Linked DNA regions of Homo sapiens: region 1 is linked to region 2. Evidence: promoter capture Hi-C in human tissues and cell types (Jung and others, 2019). All regions are on one chromosome and are shown on one strand. Each heading gives the region's core, a stretch centred on a gene start or on the middle of the fragment in contact. The rest is flanking DNA. Distances are from core to core; before and after follow the strand shown.

Region 1 (5,560 bases), core at 2,575-5,074, 640 kb after region 2:
GAAGGCCTGGGACACATCGACCACATTGTATGTAGGTGGTGTTTGTTGAACCATTTTGTTGGCCTGGGAATGTGAGGGTTGTGTATGTCAGGAGCGGTATGAAGGTGGCTGGTGGGTGCGTGTGTGTGTTTGTGGGCAGCACTGTGTGCATAAGAACGAGCTGCGTGGTGCACTATTCAAATTTGACATTAGAATGCAGGGAGAGCCCCCTTGTAGAAGTGTGACAAGATAACGCACTGACAGACTGCGAGGTTAACATAATTGTATCCTGTTGCTTTTTGCTGTAATTGACAAATTATGTGACTATGAGTAGGGTGCACATGAAAAGGTGAGCAGGGAGATGCAGGGCGAGTCGGGGATGGGGCATTGGAAGTGGTGGTCTCCCAACTAAAACCACCCCACTATCCTTGCCCCTCCCCCGTTCGCCCCTCTGGGTCCCACTTTCTCACTCTCTGTGGGTGGCGACTATGTGGAAGTGGTGAGGTGAAGATACTGTGAGCAGGACGGCGGGATGCCGGGAGCCGCTCTGGTCTGGGAGGAGAGATGGGACCTGAAACACCCCAGGTTCTGTGAGAAGGGCTGGAGGAAGAAGAGCGGGGGATGGGGGGGGTGGGGCGGAGGGGAGGGTCAGTTGGCTCCCCTCCGCTCCCCTCCACACCCCGAGGTAGCTTGGTCAAGAATAGGAAACAGTTTACTCCGAAGATTAATCGGTATTTGTTGTCCTCGTGACAAGGAGATAATATGCGGGATAATGGGACGTGGCGTCTCACTCCCAGGAGCACAACGGAGCCGAGGGGCTCGGGGCCAGGGGCGGCGCGCGGGACTGCGAGGAGGCTGCCGGCGCATCCGTGAGCTCTCGGACCGGCTCCGGATGCCCGGCGCCTCCATGGAGTCGGGCGAGGGAAGGGAAAATCGGTAACAGTATGCGAAATATCTGGTACAAAGGATGCTTCTGTCACTCGCAAGAATTTGTTATGGGAACAATCCTGTCGCTCTGTAATTGCTCATTAGAGAACGTTTTGTTTCTCATTAAGGCGACATGAATAAGCGTCTAGTTGAAGGAGACAGCTGTAGAAATGTTCCACAAGAGACCTCTGGACACGATTCGGCACCAATTGCCAATTAGACATGTCAGTTTTAAGAGCAGAAAACAATATAGGACGGACACTGGGAAGATAGGGAGCAAAGCGCTCGCTTCTTGTTTCCCAGCGCGGCCGCTCGGCCGGCGGAGGCCTCCTGACGCGCGGGGCCCGGGCTCCCCTGGGCGACCCCGCCCGCACGGGCCCCGAACCCGCCGCCTCCGCGAGCTCAGAGGGCCCCCAGGCCCGCTCCCGCCTCTGGTGAGACTAGCGATTGACCCCACCGAGTGTAGGCAACCCCATCCCTGCCTGACTTTTGAAACCGTAGGATTCCCACTTGTAGACACTGGACACACCCAAGTGACACCCGAACTTCGCACTCACGAGCGTCCACCCCTCCGCCCCCAGCAATCTGAGGTCCTGGTGATCCCTCCCCTGACAAGAGTCTGGCCCACTTAGTCCGAGAAGTCTTGGGGAGGGACTCAGGGCACGGTGGCCTAGGCCTGGGAGGGCTGAGCCCAGAGCCTCCACTCCGGGCTCTCCCCGGTGCGTGGGCTCCCATGAGCTTGGGGCGCAGGATACACCCCCCTTCCGCTTCTTGGAGTTGGGCAGAAGCCGAGGACAGCAGCTTCCACCAGAGGTGGCGCCCGATTCGGGCGGATTTTCGTCGCCGGCAGTCTGAGGGCGGGAAGTGAGAGTCAAATCAGCTAGGGTCCGCCTGTGATGGTTGGGGCCGGAGGTGGAGCTAGTCCAGGGGCTTTTCACTTTAACGCGCCTAGTTGCTAGAAAATTCTGGGTCAACTGGCAATCACCACCCCCCCACCCGCAAGTGAGGTTTTTGGGGGGTGATTGTCACCTCAGGCACAGGACCGTCGCCCCTAGTTGCGTGGGGAGGACACGTGGGCCAAACGAAGCACAGAGTTGCCGGCGTGGGGGTAGCGGGCACCGGTGGTGAGCTTCGCTTCACGTTCCCGGGGAATCCTCAGACTTTTTGGTGCTAAGAGGGTCCCCCTCCCTCCCTAGCCCCCTTTCCCAGCCCAGGAAGCCTTTCTTGGGTTTTAAAGAGTCCATACTCCAAAAGCATAAGGCGGGGGTTAGGTCTCAGAGGGAGACAAATATGGTTTCCATCTGATCAACGCCATGCGGCGGTGAATAAAATCGCGACGACGTGGGCTGACAACAACAAGAGACAACTCTATCCAGCCCCAATTCTCCGGCGATTTGGTGGTTTTAGGGATCACGGAGACACTTTTTCTTATCTCCTCCCCTCACCCCACCCCCACCCCCCATAATACCCAAGCCCTCTATAGGATTTAGTCAGCCTCTCTTTCAACAGATGCTACAATGTTTTGATCCGCGCTCCAGAGCTGAAAAGGTGCCGCAACCGGGTTGCTATCTTTTCTTGCTTGTTTTCCGCCTCACTGATTAAGACACTAAGAAACTAAGGAATGATTTTATTTCCCAGCAACTCTCTCTCTGTCTCTCTCTCTCTCTCTCTCTCTCACCTCCTTCCAGGAAACAAATCCTATTCCCATCGTCAGATGGTCCTGGGGCTGGGATAATGGGAGGCGCTTTCACTCGCTTTCTCACGGATTAGGCTGGAAGGTGAACGGCACCCACTGAAGGCCCCTGCTTTGCGCGGCTCCGAGGGGGCGCCTTTTGAAGAAGATATCTTAATTGTCCACCACTTAGGTTTATCGTGGGGGTGGGGGAGTCGAGATCCAACTTCTAGTTTTATTTTGTTAAAAGCTTTAAGAGTGGAAGGCAAATCCACTAAAGTGGGGGGAAATGTACCCATTTTATGTAAGAGCAGCCGCTAGGTCACCGCCTGGCTGCAAACAGTTGCCACTTCTAAAGTAATGAACTGTCTCCGTGCCGCTCTCCCCGCGGGGTAGAGAAGGGATCCTGCAGCGACAGGTTTCTTTTTGCTGTGGAATTCCAATCCCCGCTTCCCATCTTTTTTTTTTTTTTTTTTTTTTCCAGATTTAAAATTGAGCTCTACTGTCCCTGCTGACTTTTCTCTCTTAAGTGTCAGTTCTGGAGGCAGCACAGGGCCTGGCGGCGATCGCGTGCTGCCTGTGTAAACCCGTGTGTATGTTTGTGTGAGACAGAACATGGATAAGAATGTGAATCTCCATGTTTTAAAATTAAGAAAATGTCAAAGAGGCAAATGAGAGCAGAGCATGCTATCGGCGGGGTTCTTCGGAGGCAGATTCGGGCAACTTTGTTTAATTGGCGAGATCGAATGTGCCAGAAAAGGGACCGAGATGGGGCCCCTAGGAAGGCATGGGCATGAGTGGCCATGGGGAGATGGGCATTGTGTTCTCCTCAGTGTCCCCCACCCCATACCAGATGTGCACAGATTTTTGTCTGTTTTCCAAAAGCAATAACCCTCCGGCCTTTCTAGTTGGCCAAAAGGAGCTATTTCCAGTCTTCCTTCTTCACCAAACCCGAAAATAAAGCGAGGGGTGGGGGTGGTCGCTTCATTTCTTCCCTTGAAAAACGCTTTGAAAAGTCCCCGGAAACTTGGGGCAGTAAATTAGCACAGACGCTTGTGCCCGCACACGTGAGCGGAGCGCGTCTCCCTCAGCTAAGTAGCCCTCCTCGACCCCCACCTTTCTGATGGAGTGCAAAGACCCAGAGTCCAGATGGGGCTCAGTTACTAATATTCTCTGGCCCTCATCCTCCTTTTCCTCTCTCTCCCACTCTTGTTCGGCCCTCGTGTCTCTTTTTCCTCTCAGCATTCTTTTCTGTCCTTTTTTAAAAATACCTTTCTAGCCTCTATGTTTTTTGAGCCTTCTTTTCCCCTCCATCGCCCTCTTTTTCCCTCCATCGCCCTCTGTCTTTCCCCTAACCCAGGCCCCCCAATCCTTCCCCCTTGCTTCCACCCCCACCGCTGGTTTCCATCCTGCCTCCCCTCCATCTCCTCTATGTAGGAACCCAGCCCTGGTCCCCGTCCACTCTCCCTGCCTCCCCCCATGCTGGGCCCTGGCCCCCCCATCCACCCTCCATCCCCCCAGCCAAGCGCCCTAAATAGCACGGAGGCGCCCGCTCTTCGGACAGTGATTAATGATAGCAGAGCAGAGGGGTTAACACACTTCACTGAAAAGTCTGTTGACTGGGCTTCTTGTAACACAATGTGGCCCGCTGCACGCCTCAAGAGAATCCTTTTGTTGTCCGCGCTCATTGTAGCCTCAAAATTCTGCCCACGAAAGTTTGCCAACGCTCCTGCCCCAGGAGTTTAATAGTTTCCCTTACTCGCGGGGCATTGTGCAGCGCTGAAAAGCAGCCCCTCGCTATTCAAGTGTTGGTGGTCATCTCAATAGATCTCCAAGGGCCCATATGGTGGCCAGTGCCGATGAATCCGCCTGTTTAAATGGGGGAGAAAGTTGGGGTTTTAAAACATTTCAAAGTTCCTGAAAAGATCCCACTAGATCCTGTCACAATTCCCTGAACTCTTTGAAGGCGCAGCCTATTGTCTCCTGGTTATAAATAATATTCCTGGCCAAGTCGATTCCCACCAAGGCGCTCCTAGGGGCCCCTCCACCCCGCCTCTGGCCAAGTTTTGAGGATAGGGAGGTGGGTAGCCCATGCTGGTATCCCTTGGGGGTCATTTCAGGACCCCAGACCCAGGACCCAGCCTGTAGTGGCCCTGGAGGCCCAGTCAGAGTTTAGGCAATCCTGCTTCCCTTCACTGTGGCCTTACAGGCAAGGTGCAAGCCGGGAGCCAGCTAGCCCAAGTGCACATCTTGCCCTCCAGGCAGCAAGGGAAAACCATAAAACTTTCCCCCTGTATAATGATAGAAGTTACATTCAAAGTGGTGGAAATGCCCTAATTAAAAATGTACCACTTAAATGATATGCCAAAGATTCAGCTGCAGCATAGAATATTTAGCTAGTTAGTGAACTCTCTACTATTTCTTTTTTAAAATTACACGTTAAAAATTTAAAAGAAATCTTACTTTTCTCTGGTGCAACACATTACAAAGAATGGACAGTCCTTTTATCTAAATATAAAATTCCATTTTCAGCAATTATAGCCTGTTCTTGGTGATGATATAATTACAGCTGTGCTCGTAATAGGTGTCAAGGCGAAGCGCACTCATACAATAGTTGAATAAAACTGCAGAACAATGCGAGCACTTCTAAATTCACAACCTTTAAATGAAATTGACTGTGCAGAATTCAAATAAAAACTAGATAAATATTTTTTAAAAAAGATTACAAGCTTGGTTTGGTTTCTTAATAGCATTTTCTACAAACCTATCAACATCTAATTGATTAGATAGGAATTACTGATTATAGATCAACTGAAATCTTGAACATCACTCTTCTATTTTCCCAACACAGCCATAGGTAAAGAGATTCTGTAGGGAGTGGAGTGAGGCATTTGGGGAGTTGGGGTTACTTATAAAAGATCATTTTAATTGGAAACTTCAGTGCTTATTTTTTCATTCAAGAAATGCCACTTAGTGTGTGTA
Region 2 (6,797 bases), core at 2,201-4,700:
GATTTTTTCATATTGCAATAATTATGCACCTTCGAGGCCGGGATGCCTGCGCTTTGCCAGTGTATCAACGCCACATGGTTTTCCAGGGGCTGTCCTCGCCTCTGCATCCCATTAGCTCTGAAGAGGTAGAGGGGTGGTGGGTAAAACCTCCAACTGGACGTTGAGAGACCCGGGTTTCAGCTCGGCGTTGCCACTAACTTGTTTCCTGTCCTTAAACAGTAGTAGTAACAAAAACTGTAAAGTTGATTGAGTCAAAGGCCCACACTGCTCTCCTATCTAATCCTCAGAACAACTCTATGAGGTGGGCGCTAGTATCCCATTATCCCGTTTGACCAGTAAGGAAACTGAGGCTCAGAGAGACTGCGGAACTCGTCTAGGGTCACACAGCTGTTGGTTACCTGGCAGAGCTGAGGTTCCATTCTGGGGCCACCAACCCCTTGCTCTTTACCGCTGCGCTCCATAGACTGCCTCTCCTTCGGCTGTCTGGGCCTCAGTTTCCTTCTCTGTAAAACGAGAAGTTTAATCTGCAGCTTTCTTTGCCAATCGGTGGTTCAGACCAGGAACCTCTGCTACAGATCTCGGCGCTGACAGGGGTAAGAAGGTGGGTGAAAGAAGGGGGCGCCCAGTTTTCCACAGCCTGCTTTTCTCTGGGACCTCGCGAAGGGCGGGCCTCGCGAGCTAAAGGAGGTACAGGAGAGCGCCTATCGTCCGCGGCGGGTGAAGGTGCTACCTGCCTTCGTGCTAGGCTGTGAGTCCTGGTGCTTAGCTCAGGGCGCCAAGGCCAGTGTAGCTGGCATGTCCCCCTTGGAAAACCTCAGGTCTCCCGCAGAGAACGTTACCCACAACAAAGAAGAGGACAGAGAGGCATGGAGCGCCCTGCGACTGCAGGAGTACGTCAGTTCCCCAGCGCTGGCTTAGTGTCGCCTGGGCTTCCGGGCATGTGGATCCGTTGGGGTCGTACGGAGACTTCCTGTCGGGTCCCTGGGGTCCTCCGACTGCGGCTCCTCAGCTTAGCACTTTCTTCTTGGCCCCGCAGGCTGCAGGGAACTCCTCCCACCTCTTTAGTCGGAGAAGTCCAAGTCGGGCGAGGGGGCACCCCGGGGTTCGCACCGGTGCTCTTCCCCTCCCCGCCCCCACAAGGATTCTGAGAAAATAAATGGCAGAGGAGAGAGGAGTTCTACATTTGCTTGGCTCTCCTTTCCTCCTATCCACCCCTACATCCCTCACCCCGGGGCAAAAACTTATTTTTGAAAAATGTTGGCAGAGATTTACGTGTCTTTGCCTTACCTGGGTTTCACAAACACAACGACTCACATTCAAGCCAGCCTCCCTTCAGATAACCTCCTCTCCCCCCGCTAAAAGTGCCAAGGATGGTAAAAGAAGAAACAATCTCAATCTTTTCGTTTGGAAATGAAAGTCCCCGGCTTTTCATAAAGGGCTCCTCGCCCCTCACAGTTGAGTCCTAGTTAAGAAAAACGACTTCCAAGTAGAAATAATAGGCGGGGAGAAGGAAGGGAGATACAGGGATCTGGGGGGTTCTTAGGGCAACTGGCAGTGAATTTTGTCTCGAGAGTCCTTTCTCCACTCAAAAAACCAAACGCGCGAGCCCCGCGAAAGGTTTAGGGATAGATCGTGTGGGAGAGGACTGAGCAGAGAGCGTGGGGGCAGTGTCTTGTAGAATCTTTCTTTTCTTAATAATAATTTTAAAAGCTTCTGAGTGGAGACGACGCAAAGTCAAGCAGCAAAGGTGGCCTGGGAGGCAAGCGGAGGGCTCAAGTGCCGCATCTTTACCCTCAGGGTCTCCTGCGCCTACGGGATGCGCATTCCCAAGAAGTGCGCCCTTCGAGTAAGTCCTGGGCCCGCACACACTTCGGGTCCGCAGCCAGAATTTAATGGCGACAACGTTTATGCAATGCAAGCTAAAAACCAAAGCGTAAAAAATTACTATGTCATTTATTGAAACGCCATTCTTTGTCAAACTGCAACTACTTTGCTTCACATAAGTTTGGCTGGAAAGCTTGCAGCCCCAGCCCGGGCCAGCCAGGTACAGGAGGCCGGACTGCAACCGGTTGCTTCCCTCCCGTCGCGCCTGGCCGTCCCACGCTGCGCCGTCGCTGCTGCCTCCTGGCGCCCCTGGGATTTTATACGCACCTCTGAAACACGCTCCGCTCCGGCCCCCGGTTCTTCTCCTTGCCTAGGGGTTGTTTCCCAATAGATACTGACTCCTTTAGAAGATCCAAAAACCAAACCAAAACACCCCCTACCCGCCCCAAACACCTGCTCTGGGGCGCGGGGGCTGCCAAACAGAGACTAGACGAAGGGAGTCAGATTTAGCGAAGCTCTTCGAGCTCCCAAAGATTCGAACACTAACTCGCGCCCGTGGGCCGATGGAGGTTCTCCCTACTCCACTCCTTGGTCCCCTTAACTGGCTTCCGCCTCCTGGTCAATCACTGAGCAACCAGAATGGTATCCTCGACCAGGGCCACAGGCAGTGCTCGGCGGAGTGGCTCCAGGAGTTACCCGCTCCCTGCCGGGCTTCGTATCCAAACCCTCCCCTTCACCCCTCCTCCCCAAACTGGGCGCCAGGATGCTCCGGCCGGAATATACGCAGGCTTTGGGCGTTTGCCCAAGGGTTTTCTTCCCTCCTAAACTAGCCGCTGTTTTCCCGGCTTAACCGTAGAAGAATTAGATATTCCTCACTGGAAAGGGAAACTAAGTGCTGCTGACTCCAATTTTAGGTAGGCGGCAACCGCCTTCCGCCTGGCGCAAACCTCACCAAGTAAACAACTACTAGCCGATCGAAATACGCCCGGCTTATAACTGGTGCAACTCCCGGCCACCCAACTGAGGGACGTTCGCTTTCAGTCCCGACCTCTGGAACCCACAAAGGGCCACCTCTTTCCCCAGTGACCCCAAGATCATGGCCACTCCCCTACCCGACAGTTCTAGAAGCAAGAGCCAGACTCAAGGGTGCAAAGCAAGGGTATACGCTTCTTTGAAGCTTGACTGAGTTCTTTCTGCGCTTTCCTGAAGTTCCCGCCCTCTTGGAGCCTACCTGCCCCTCCCTCCAAACCACTCTTTTAGATTAACAACCCCATCTCTACTCCCACCGCATTCGACCCTGCCCGGACTCACTGCTTACCTGAACGGACTCTCCAGTGAGACGAGGCTCCCACACTGGCGAAGGCCAAGAAGGGGAGGTGGGGGGAGGGTTGTGCCACACCGGCCAGCTGAGAGCGCGTGTTGGGTTGAAGAGGAGGGTGTCTCCGAGAGGGACGCTCCCTCGGACCCGCCCTCACCCCAGCTGCGAGGGCGCCCCCAAGGAGCAGCGCGCGCTGCCTGGCCGGGCTTGGGCTGCTGAGTGAATGGAGCGGCCGAGCCTCCTGGCTCCTCCTCTTCCCCGCGCCGCCGGCCCCTCTTATTTGAGCTTTGGGAAGCTGAGGGCAGCCAGGCAGCTGGGGTAAGGAGTTCAAGGCAGCGCCCACACCCGGGGGCTCTCCGCAACCCGACCGCCTGTCCGCTCCCCCACTTCCCGCCCTCCCTCCCACCTACTCATTCACCCACCCACCCACCCAGAGCCGGGACGGCAGCCCAGGCGCCCGGGCCCCGCCGTCTCCTCGCCGCGATCCTGGACTTCCTCTTGCTGCAGGACCCGGCTTCCACGTGTGTCCCGGAGCCGGCGTCTCAGCACACGCTCCGCTCCGGGCCTGGGTGCCTACAGCAGCCAGAGCAGCAGGGAGTCCGGGACCCGGGCGGCATCTGGGCCAAGTTAGGCGCCGCCGAGGCCAGCGCTGAACGTCTCCAGGGCCGGAGGAGCCGCGGGGCGTCCGGGTCTGAGCCGCAGCAAATGGGCTCCGACGTGCGGGACCTGAACGCGCTGCTGCCCGCCGTCCCCTCCCTGGGTGGCGGCGGCGGCTGTGCCCTGCCTGTGAGCGGCGCGGCGCAGTGGGCGCCGGTGCTGGACTTTGCGCCCCCGGGCGCTTCGGCTTACGGGTCGTTGGGCGGCCCCGCGCCGCCACCGGCTCCGCCGCCACCCCCGCCGCCGCCGCCTCACTCCTTCATCAAACAGGAGCCGAGCTGGGGCGGCGCGGAGCCGCACGAGGAGCAGTGCCTGAGCGCCTTCACTGTCCACTTTTCCGGCCAGTTCACTGGCACAGCCGGAGCCTGTCGCTACGGGCCCTTCGGTCCTCCTCCGCCCAGCCAGGCGTCATCCGGCCAGGCCAGGATGTTTCCTAACGCGCCCTACCTGCCCAGCTGCCTCGAGAGCCAGCCCGCTATTCGCAATCAGGGTAAGTAGGCCGGGGAGCGCCCCCTACGCGCGGGGCAGTGGCGCCAGGGACTCTCCGCTCTAGGACACCCCCCTCTCCTACCCCTTTTGACCGCAGCTCTTACCCAGCTGCTTCCCAAGGGCCGTGAGGATAGCGGAAGCGGCGGCTGGGGAGGAGGCCGGAGAGTGGGAGTGCACGCAGGCACTGGCCCCCGACATCCTCCAAAGCCAGGCAGAGCTAGGAGCCTGACTGTTCGCAAGAGCCGGGAGGGCGTCTGGGGCCCCTTAGAGTCCGAGAGATTCCGGGACTGCTAGTCCCCACGGGAGTGGAACCAGGAGACCGGCGCAGTGTCTGGCTCTGCCTTGGGGAGAGTTTTGTTAATTAAGGAAACGCCAAATTGTCACCAAGCGTAGCGCTTTTCAGACGTCTGGACTCTGGATTCGGAGTGGGACCAGCGCGGGGGTGAGCGCCTGTGCTGTGCTGCCTCCGCAGCGCTAAAATGTCCAGGAGCACCTCCAGCCCTTATAATACGGTGTTGGCACACACTTAGGTGCACATTAAGTATCGTAGAGAACTAGAATGAGCACATGCACCTCCAGTAACTAAATGGCTTTCTGGAACAGCGTCGTGTCCGTGGATAGCTCCCGCGTATGGTAATACAGAAGTGGATCTTCACTGGGCTTCGCTCAGGCGGCGGCCACGCAGGTTCTGGGGATGGAAGAGAACTTGACTTATCCGAGTCCAAGCTATGCGGGACCAGGTTCTACCGCAGGCAGTGGAAGGAGGCACGAGCTTTGGCCTTTCTTTCAGCGCATCTGGGGCGCCTCTTCATCTTGTAAACGCGGGGCTCAGCTGGGACAGTATTTCTTCAAGACCTGGGGTTAGAACAAGGACAGGGTTATTCGCTGTGCTTAGTCAGGATACAAGGAGGGAACTCGGCACACGATAAGTATCAGGTTGGTTTCTCATCCCGCGCCGATGCCCGCCCACCTCTCTTTCGCCTGGGCGGCGCGGACCCGAACCTGCGGAGCCCCTGTAGTTTGCCCTCTTCATTTATTTTCAGTGGATTTCCACGCTATTGAGAACCTAAGCCAGTTCGGTTTGATTCGGTAATTTAGTAAACGCTTTACTAATACAATGGCGGATGCTTTTCCTGGAGCAAAATTACTCGAGGGCCTAGGGACCGGGATGTTTTTGGAATGCGTGGGAAGCAGAGTGTATCTTTTGCAGGAGGTACCTTCGCCCAAGGCTCGGGAGAAGGGCTCTGCCCTTGTTGCCCGCCTTCACCCGCGCCTTCTAAACGCGCGTCTTCAGGCCGCTCCTACCTTAGCCTAACCAGGAGCACCCGGCCCCCGCGAAGCCTTGGAGAAATCGAAACCGCCCTTTTCTTCGGGAGAATCTGGGATCACTGTCCTGTGGAGGAACCGCAAGCAGACCCAAGGGTTGCCTCCACTCTATGCTTTTAGTTAGTGAAATTAGTGTTTTGTACTCAAGGGGCGTTGGGACAACTTACTGGTCGCTGAGGCTTGTGTTCTTTGATCAGATCGCGCCACCTTTGTTTAGCAGGCTGGTGTTACTTTTGGGGAGTTTCTAGGTCTCAGTGTCCCCGTCTATAAGAGGACAGCTGAGATGGGCAACCTGGAGATTGGGTCCGGCTTGAAGTTATACTCCATAGATGCAGAAGCGCTACCCACCACCCTCTTGGGGCTTTAAATATGGAACTCGGCAACCCATCTAAACATCTGTGACTGAGAAACAATGAATCCGAGAGCACTGTCTGCATGTGTGCTATTTGGAGGCGGTTGAGAAACCATCGAATCCATGCCCCTGGGGCACAAAATACTACTACGCCATTATCTTTTTAGTACTTCTAGGGGATTTTTGAAACCTGGGTTCTGTCGCTTCGTTTGGGTCCCTTGTCCAGCCCTTTTCAGGGCAGGTCTGGTGCCTGGGATCTTATCACATGTCGTGGGGGGTGGGACTGTGGGTTTTGCAGCCAGCAGGCATTACACTTCTGGAAAATATCTGGATTCTTCTGTAATATACAGGCGTGGCTGCCATGGAGAAAAAGTTAAAAGGGGACCAGGACTAGTAGGTGAATGTATCCTTCTTCTCCACCCTGGAGAAAAAGCCCAATGGAGAGAGGGCCCTAGATTCAAGTCATATAGCCTGGAAGCACCATCTCCAGGTTTAAGTTTTGTCTTGCAGTGAAAACAGATGGGTCCATCTTACCCAGCCCTTGAGGCTCATTGGGCAGCTTGGATGTGAGAAGCGCTCCGGCTGCTATCCTGGAGTGGGCAAGGGTGGCCCTCGAGATTCTGGGTTTATTCTTTGGATTTCCAGGGTTCCTGCTGCTTCCCCAGGAATGCAGGGCCTGGCCCAAGACTTGGGCTGTGAGAGGCAAGGGCATCAACTCTCAAAAATGTGGAAATGGCCATCAGAGCGCCAAGGCCAAACCCCAGGGGAGAGGAATCAAGGCCGTCTCTGGATCCCTAGGGCAGTCTAGCCATGGTGCACAGGCAGGGGCAA

What was found. Contacts are between HindIII fragments. The study calls those that stand out against the background at their distance.
Region 1: a contact is called between a fragment that was not itself captured here and the fragment with the promoter of WT1 in region 2, in 1 of the 25 tissues and cell types used here (dorsolateral prefrontal cortex).

What each region holds. Positions count from the first base shown.
Region 1 is chr11:31,795,006-31,800,565 of GRCh38, reverse strand. All of the region lies in intron 8 of PAX6 (paired box 6), which reads left to right. Among named protein-coding and RNA genes, the nearest start is that of PAX6, 14 kb to the left of the region's middle. RefSeq lists enhancers at 1,402-1,939, 3,693-5,560. The HindIII fragment of the contact is 5,432 bases long and covers 1,109-5,560 here.
Region 2 is chr11:32,432,192-32,438,988 of GRCh38, reverse strand. It overlaps WT1 (WT1 transcription factor), which reads left to right and starts at 3,450. Exons shown (of 10, transcript NM_024426.6): 1 at 3,450-4,289. The coding sequence starts at 3,629. WT1-AS (WT1 antisense RNA) reads right to left here and starts at 3,471. Exons shown (of 5, transcript NR_120548.1): 1 at 3,143-3,471. RefSeq lists enhancers at 1-118, 119-976, 1,566-1,713, 3,377-3,409, 4,517-5,101, promoters at 2,015-2,351, 3,255-3,357, 2,999-3,649, 2,451-3,649, 4,987-5,720, cis regulatory regions at 2,810-2,829, 2,922-3,048, 3,033-3,070 and a silencer at 5,672-5,809. The HindIII fragment of the contact is 5,194 bases long and covers 2,510-6,797 here.